Regions from separate parts of the Homo sapiens genome. Here regions 1 and 2 are each linked to region 3. Evidence: promoter capture Hi-C in 16 types of primary human blood cells and fetal thymus (Javierre and others, 2016). All regions are on one chromosome and are shown on one strand. The core of a region is centred on a gene start or on the middle of the fragment in contact, and the rest is flanking DNA. Distances in the headings are between cores, read along the strand shown.

Evidence for each region. The method cuts DNA at HindIII sites, captures the fragments that hold promoters and counts their contacts. A CHiCAGO score of 5 or more calls a contact.
Region 1: the fragment with the promoter of ZNF287 here is called in contact with the fragment with the promoter of LLGL1 in region 3 in 1 of 17 cell types (activated CD4 T cells); the score reaches 7.5 in activated CD4 T cells.
Region 2: a fragment that was not itself captured here is called in contact with the fragment with the promoter of LLGL1 in region 3 in 1 of 17 cell types (endothelial precursors); the score reaches 6.0 in endothelial precursors.

The regions. Positions count from the first base shown.
Region 1 is chr17:16,567,857-16,570,556 of GRCh38, forward strand. ZNF287 (zinc finger protein 287) reads right to left here and starts at 1,348. Exons shown (of 6, transcript NM_020653.4): 1 at 1,096-1,348; 2 at 1-73. RefSeq lists enhancers at 411-912, 913-1,412. The HindIII fragment of the contact is 2,931 bases long and covers 179-2,700 here.
Region 2 is chr17:16,550,136-16,552,835 of GRCh38, forward strand. ZNF287 (zinc finger protein 287) reads right to left here. Exons shown (of 6, transcript NM_020653.4): 6 at 1-2,700. The coding sequence ends at 1,721. Among named protein-coding and RNA genes, the nearest start is that of ZNF287, 18 kb to the right of the region's middle. The HindIII fragment of the contact is 1,063 bases long and covers 892-1,954 here.
Region 3 is chr17:18,224,385-18,227,084 of GRCh38, forward strand. It overlaps LLGL1 (LLGL scribble cell polarity complex component 1), which reads left to right and starts at 1,251. Exons shown (of 23, transcript NM_004140.4): 1 at 1,251-1,379. The coding sequence starts at 1,299. RefSeq lists silencers at 913-1,392, 1,543-1,712. The HindIII fragment of the contact is 4,006 bases long and covers 441-2,700 here.

The DNA.
Region 1 (2,700 bases), core at 98-2,597, 1.7 Mb before region 3:
CAGAATCAAGGTAGAGTTAGCAGCCTTAGTGACAAATTCTGAGCCCAGAACTTGCAGGGATGGATAAGAGACCCTGAAACACAAGCATGGACCACAAGGTCAAGAATCCCTGGTGTACTCTACTATACATATACACACACAGAAACAGACTCGCAGTGTGCATAGATGAACACACATAAGCTTTACCTTGTCTTCCTCCCCTATATCCTTAGACTTGTAAGGGAACTGCCATCTGCTTGGGGTTGGTGGGGGATGGAGCTGCTATTAAAAAGGTAGTGTCAGAGGCAATGACTCGAATCTAAGCCAAACAACAGATTAAACCTCTAACCTGTTGTAACAAAAATTAAACATTTTTATAGAGAAAATAGTTTCATTATTTTAGTCACTGATGTTACAGAAGCTGTAATGACTGAACGGACTCTCAACAATAACAAAGTGAATCTGTTACTTGGAAGAAACTAGGAGAATTTCTTCTTAATACAGTGCTCAAGGTTCCCAAGGGAACTGTCAGGGGAAAGGGCGAGCCATTTATCTGCGTTGCATGTTAATGCCAGCCGATTCTAGCCTTTCACTATCAGAGGGTTGGGAAGACCAGCGGGTTGGACTGGAAAAGAGTGAAGAGGTTGGTGTGACTTCAAGTCCTTTAAGTGCTTCTATAGGAGACAGTTCTTTAGGGATATATTCGAAACCAGGATTCTCGAAGGAAACCTTAGAACCGGCCTGATCTGGAGGAGAACCGACACCACCTCTCCCCAGGCTCCAGCTCCGAGCCCTGCTGAGGCACAGTCGTGCCACCAAAGACAACTGTTTACAAGGCCCTGCGGAGGTGATGCGACAGCCTTGCCTTGCCTCCTGTCGCCTCCCCTTCCCGGCCAAGTCCCTCTGCCTCTTACTCCTCTTCAGCCGCAGGGTCGAGGTCGAGGGCAGCGGGGGAGTCGGGGACCGTGCGACGCGCAACGCTGGGACTGGGCCCACAGCAGCCTCCACCCCGTCTTTGCCCTCCCGCAAGCCACGAGCACGGGAGCCCGCGCGTGGACGGGCTCGGGCTGTCACTGATCGCGCGGACACTCGCGCGCTGCGCCCGGACATCAATACCTGTCGCTGGGACCCGGCCGACGGGCAGCCGGAGCGGCCCTAAGGCCACAGGCAACAATGGCGACGCTGGCACAGGCGCCTGCGTGGCGGGCTCAGTCCCGAGCGGCAGCGGATCCTCGGGCTCCGCCACTTCCCTTCCCCGCAAAGCACAGAGTGTCCCGGCCAGGAGCTGCACGTTCCAGCCCGGTCCTGAGAAGCCCGGCCCAGAAACCCCGGCGCCTCTGCTTAGCCGCGACCTCGCCTCGGCGTCACTGCGCATGTGCGCCAGAGGAACGCTGCGCGCCCGCAGAGCCAATCGGAGCCCAAGCTGCCGCCTCCCCCTCCCGCGCCTCTGGCCCTGGACCTGTCTCCATGGCAACCTCCTCCACCCATCGCTCTGACTTGCTTGTCAGCCTGCGAGGTTCCGAAGGGAACTTCAAAGTTTCCCCGGGCAGACGCAGGTCTGGTAGACGTCTTGGAGGCCAGGGAGGTGCCAGTAGCTGGAGGAGCGCCGGGAGTTGAAGCCCCGCGCCAACTACGCAGAGAAAACTGGGCGCCAGATTTCCTAGAGGAAGAATGGGCAGGGAAGATGTGGGTCTAAAGGCAGAAAGACTTAATGTGCGGTTTCGGGCTTTACTGTGCATACATACTAACTGTGAAAGGTTTTCACTTCCTCCTCAGGAATTTGATTCTGAGACTCTCAGATTGGGGGAAAAAAACCCATGTTCTTTCTTTCTTTCTTTTTTTTCTTTTGAGACGGAGTCTCGCTCTGTCGCCCAGGCTGGAGTGCAATGGTGCGAGCTCGGCTCACTGCAACCTCCGCCTCCTGGGTTCAAGTGATTCTCCTGTGTTCAAGTGATTCTCACTTGAACTTCCTGGGTTCAGCCTCCCGAGTAGCTGTTATTTCTAAGAGACACAAAACAAAAATACATAAAACACTGGAAAAATAAAAGCATAGAAAAACATATTCAAGGTGTTCCCGTTATCTACTGTTCTATTAACAAACCACCCCAAAACTTAGTGGTTTTGAAGGACAATCACCGTATTATGCTCATAAATTTCATGGTGAGGAATTTGAAAGGGGAACTGAGTGGGTGGGCCTTTGCCTCATTATGTCTGTAGCCTCTGTTGGGATGATTTGATGGCTGGGAGGGCCCGCTTCCAAGATGGCTTTTCCACTCACATGTCTACTGCTTGGGAGGAGATGGGCTAAAAGATGAACTCGGCTTGTGTTTGACCAGAGTGCCTCAATGTGGTCTCTCCAGCATAAAGGACTGAGGGCAGCTGGACTTGTTACATGGTGGCTCTGGGCTCCAAGAGTGAGCATTCCAGTGAACAAGAGAGAAGCGCCATGGCCAATTATAACATGGCCTTGGAAGTCACCTAACACCAATTCTGTCAGACTCTTGGTCAAAGCAATCACAAGCCTACAGAGAATCAAATGGAGGCAGAATCCTGTGAGGGTGGAGGAGGACTGTCAAAGACTCTTAATATCACCACACCAGGAAAATTTTAACAAAAAGAAAGTTGGACCGGGCGCGGTGGCTCACGCCTGTAATTCCAGCACTTTGGGAGGCCCAGGCAGGTAGATCACCTGAGGTCAGGAGTTTGAGACCAGCCTGGCCA
Region 2 (2,700 bases), core at 173-2,672, 1.7 Mb before region 3:
TTCTGCCAGTTTTCCTTTTGAGACCCACAAACCCAGTTATCATTGTTTAATGATTACTGCATCAATGCTTTTTCCAATTAAATTTTTTCCTGACATGTTAAGAGTAATCTCTGTTTTACTTGTATGTATGAAGGAGTGTCAGGCTTCCAATTATTCTTTAAAAATCGGTCATTTTGTTTTTAGTTTCTTCTAATAACCAGGCTGAATTCTTTTTTATTTAGCCACTCTCATTTCATAGGCAAAGCAAGTCCAATTACATTTCATGTTATAGCAATTATCTATGTATGTTTTCCTCACTCCACTAAAATTTCACCTTTTCCCCGACCCACATTCTGCAGTGAATTCAGATCTATTTTCCATTTTTTTCTCACATTATTTATATAGCTACACTATCACTTCCACTTCCTTCTCTTGGGATATAGGTAGCATTTGGCAACCCATTTTAGCAGGTTGCTTATGCTCAACCCATGACAAAATATCACATCCTCACTTTCTCATCACTCTAGAAATCTTTCTGTTGTGTAAACCACCTGTGATTTTCAGCACTGTAACAAGCTTGAGAGGATCCAATTAGGAAGTTTGGGACCTGAGCATAGTAGACACTCAAGAAACGTGTTTCAGTGGAAGAAATGAACTTTCCATAGTAAAACAGTCACAGAGAAACCTAAAGTATAAATTTAGGAGTCAGGTGAAAAAAATGGGAACTGTATACTTTATACCTACTTTTTTCCTTCAGGATGACCTTGAATGTCAAAACCTAGTGAAATCAAGGCTAATGTGTATTGAAAATTCATTTAAGCTTGAGGCATTTAATTTTTGCCTGTTTAACTAAATCTCTACACATCTAATGTTATATACACATTAGTTTCTATCATAACATATCTTTCATTAAGCTTCTCTTTAATATTTCCATATCTGAGGGAAGGTGTAACCAGTGGTCACATAGAAATCTTTAAGATACTTCCAACTGTTTTTTTTTCAAACCTACTGGCTCCATATGGCAGTTATGGCATAACAGGAGAAGGGGAAGTAAAACAGGGAAGGGAGTCCTTTACATATTTTAAGGCTTCAAAGCTGGGAATAAAAGGCCTGAAAGCAGCTTACTCTTTTCTGTAATTTTAAGATCACTCTCTAGTGTGAAATCTCTATTTGATGGACACCTTCCTAAGTTACACTCATAAGGCCTCATTAGGATGTACAGTTGACCCTTGAACAACACATTTGAACTGTACAGATCCATTTATACTGGAATTTTTTTTTTCAACTGAACAGAGTTTGAAAGCACATTATTCAGGGATGGGAAACCTGCATAGATGTAGGGCTTTTCATATACACAGGTTCCACCAGGCTGACCGTGCAACTTGAGTATGGGTAGATTTTCGTATACATGGGTGGTCCTGGAACCAATCCCCCGAGTATACCAAAGGATAAGTGTACTTGAAATAGAGAGTTGATGAGTTATGTTTTTGAATACCCTTCACAGGGTTTCTTTCTGTAATGAATTAAAATCATATCAAATTAAGGTTAAGAAGTCAAGTTTCCTTCTTAAATTTCACATTAAATCTAAATAGGTTATATCCATACCACTACTTCTGATACTTCTGCTGAGTATCTAACATATTGCACTTCTTCAGACTTCTTCTGAATGTTCTGACACATAGAATGCACAAAACAAAATTGAAACAAAGTTGTAAAACCGAATTGAAGTTTCCCTTATCCATTAATTACGATGTTTGGCACCTGTATGAACACGTTGATGCTGAATAAGGTTTGTACTCTGGGTGAAGGTTTTACCACATATACGACATGCATAGGGTTTCTCTCCTGTGTGAATTCTCTGGTGTTGAATAAGGCATGTTCTCTGGCTAAAATCCTTATCACATTCATTACATTTATAGGGTCTCTCTCCAGTATGAGTTCTCTGATGTTGATTAAGTGATGAGGAATAAATGAAAGCTTTCCCACATTCATTACATTTATAGGGTTTTTCTCCAGTATGAATCCTTTGATGCTGAGTAAGATTTGCGCCTTGTCTATATGCTTTCCCACATATATTGCATTTAAAGGGTTTTTCTCCATTATGAATCCTCTGATGTTGAGTAAGGTGCACACTCTGGCTGAATGCTTTCCCACACACACTGCATTTATATGGTTTCTCTCCAGTATGTGTTCTATGATGTTGAGTAAGATTTGCACTCTGGCTGAAGGCTTTCCCACATATATTACATATATAGGATTTCTCTCCAGTGTGAGTGGTTTGATGTTGAATAAGGGTTGAGGAATGAGCAAAGGCTTTTCCACATTCATTACATTTATAACACTTCTCTCCAGAATGAATTCTCTGATGTCGAATAAGGTAAGTACTCTGACTAAACACTTTCCAACATTCATTGCATTTATATGGTTTCTTCCCAGTATGTATTTTTTGATGCTGAAGAAGGTGTGTACTCTGACTGAAAGTCTTCCCACATTCATTGCATATATAAGGTTTTTCTCCAGTATGAACTCTCTGATGATTAATCAGTGATGAACTATGACTGAAGGTTTTACCACATTCCAAGCATTTATATGGTTTCTCTCCAGTATGTGTCCTTTGATGGATGGTAAGGTGTGCACGCTGACTGAAGTCTTTCCCACAGTCATCACACTTATAGGGTTTCTCTCCAGTATGAATTCTCTGATGTATAGTAAGGTGTGCAC
Region 3 (2,700 bases), core at 1-2,500:
AGTCAGCTGAAACCAGGAAAGGGCTTTGAACAGCGCCTGCCCCGCAGTAGACACTTAGGGGCTTTACTGTCGTCATTCTCCCTCCTCTCACCTCCTCACTCACTCCTGGGCCCTCTTCCGGATCCAGCCCCAAATACGGGGAAGGGCTGAACACCGCCGGCCTGGCGTGGGTGGAGGGGGACAGCCAGGCCCCAAGGCTTGGCAGCCGCCTCGGGCTCAGAGGTCAGCTCCTGCTCCCTGGACACAGCTGGTGGGGTTGGGGCCTGTCCTACCTGCCCCACCTAAGCTTCTAGGACCTCCCGCAGCCCCAGCCCTGAGCCAGGCGGCCTATCCTCAGCCTGGAAGGAAAGGTTCAGCCTCGAGGCCATTGTCCAGATGAGAAAAGGCCTGGGAGGTGGGTGGGGACAGGCAGACGGCCCCTGAGAGTAGGGGCAGGGCTAAGCTTTGTTCAGACGCTGTTCTCTGCGGGGGGAGGTCCTTCCCCCATCTCCGTAAAGCTCCAATCCAACCCCAGAACAGTCCCAAATGCCACCTCCTGGGGATCCCGTCTCTTTCTTTGGCTAAGAAAGAATCCCCTGTGCTGTGACACAGAGCCTTTTGCGTTGGGTCCTGAAAGATGTGTAGGAGTTCCCCAGGGGCTGGGGGTGAGGAAAGAATTCCTGACTACAAAGCCAAGGCAAAAGCACGGCGGTGGGAGGTGCTCTGACAGAGCGGGGAACAGACGAAATGGAGTTCTGTGAAATTGGTAAAATATAAACTTGGCAATCACTTGACCAATGGTGTAGATGGGGAAACTGAGGCGCAGAGGGGCCAGGGAGTTGTTCCAGTCAGAGCTGTCTTGGCTTTCGGAACAGGGCTGCCCCATTACATGAGTGGGCACGTCGCTCGCTCTCTGGGAGGAGGAAAAAGTCTCCTCCAAGCCCGGGAACGTGCGCCAATCCCCCTCCAAAGCGCTTCCCCAGCCGCCCGCGCTGGAGCCCCGGCTCATGGACTACAAGTCCCGGCAGGCCCCGCGCCGCGGCGCATGCTAGGCGGGCGTCCCTTCGCGAGCCCGGCCGAGCCCGGGGGCCCAGTTCACCATTGTCTGGCCAACAGGGGCGGGGCGGGCGGCACGGCGGGCTCGCTCACTGGTCGGGCGGCGCGTCCGTCGCGCCCGGCGCCCACCCCCGTGCAGGCCCGGCCCCGCGCGCCCGCGCCCGGGCCGCCTGGCGCCCCGCCCGCGCCTTAGGACCCGCGGGGCCGCGCGGCGCATCCTGCGGGCGGCGGCGGCGGGCGAGGCGCCTGCAGCCGGGCGCAAGATGATGAAGTTTCGGTTCCGGCGGCAGGGCGCCGACCCGCAGCGCGAGAAGCTCAAGCAGGAGCTTTTCGCCTTCAACAAGGTGCGGCGGCGGCCCGGGCCCGGGCTCGGGCGGGAGGGGGCGGGACGGGGGCCTGGGCTGGGGGCCCGGGGTCGGAGCCACGTCGGGCCCGGGGGGCGGGGGCTGGCATGCAGCGCGGCGCGGGGCGGGGCCGGGCCGGGCCGCGCACCCCCTCGGCGGGCCCCGCTCTGGCTCGGACTCTGGGTGGGTCTGGGTCTCCGGCCGACTTTCCGTGTCTGCTCCCCGAGTCTCTGCGGGCCGCTCTGGCCCTGGCTCTGCCAGTCTGTGTGTGTGGGGGTCTGTCTCTGAGACTCTTTGCCTGTCTCTGGGTCTCTGTCCCTCTTTCTCCGCCGCTGACCGGCTGTCTCGCCCCAGTTGTGCCTGTGTGTGTGGTGGGGGTGTCTCTGCCTCTGCCCCTTCCTATCTCTGCCTGTCTCCCTTTATCTCTCTGCCTCTCATTTCTCTTGCTGCCTGTGCGTCTCTGAGTCTTCTTTGCCTGTCTCTCCCTGCGTGTCTCTCTCTCTGTCTCTGTGGAGTCTCTCGACCTCTGTCGCTCACTTCTGTCTCTTTATCCTTTTTCTTAGGGGCTCCATTGCGTCCCTGCTCGGCCCTTGGGACAGCCCTGGGGCCCGGTTTGTTTTGTGCTTTGGCACCCAGGAGGGTGAGAGAGTTAGTGGGGGCGAGGCAGCTGTGGGGGGTGCGGCTGGGAAATCCCTTCAAGGAGCCTCTCCTTCCTTCCCCCACTGCTCCAGGCTCTGCCTTGCCCTGCTCTGCCCTGCCCGGGGCTCCGAGTCCAGGGGACATGCCTGGCTGTGTACTACACTGCACTTCGCATCGTGGGGCCTCAGTTTCCCTAGCTGTGAAATGAGGCTACTTTTCTCCATACTGTGGGCCCTGGCTCCCTCTGCCACATGGGCCAGCTGTCCTGCCTTTCTGCACCAAGGTGGAGTGAGGTGGAGGCTTTTCCTTCCTTTCCCGGAGTGGGACACTAGGGGCCAGGGAAAGGGGCCGCCTCAGCCCCCGCCTCCCTCTGCACTGATGTTAGAGCAGGGCCTCAGCCCACTCCTGGCTCACTGCTCTGGGGACGTTGGTTTTGTCCTCATTCTTACCCCAGAGCCCACTGATGGCAGAGCCTCTCAGTGCTCTTCGAAATTAGAGTTATCTTCAAAATACAGGTGAGAAAATTGAGGTTCTGAGAGGGGTGACGGCTTGCCCGGAGTCAGAGTGAGCTGCACCAATATCTTTCTTGAGTTCTTGTGTCAGTGGGGTTGGATTTTAGCCTTGAGGGGCAGGGATTTTTCCAAGGGGCTGCTGTGGTCCTGGGCCAGTGTTGTGCCAGGCG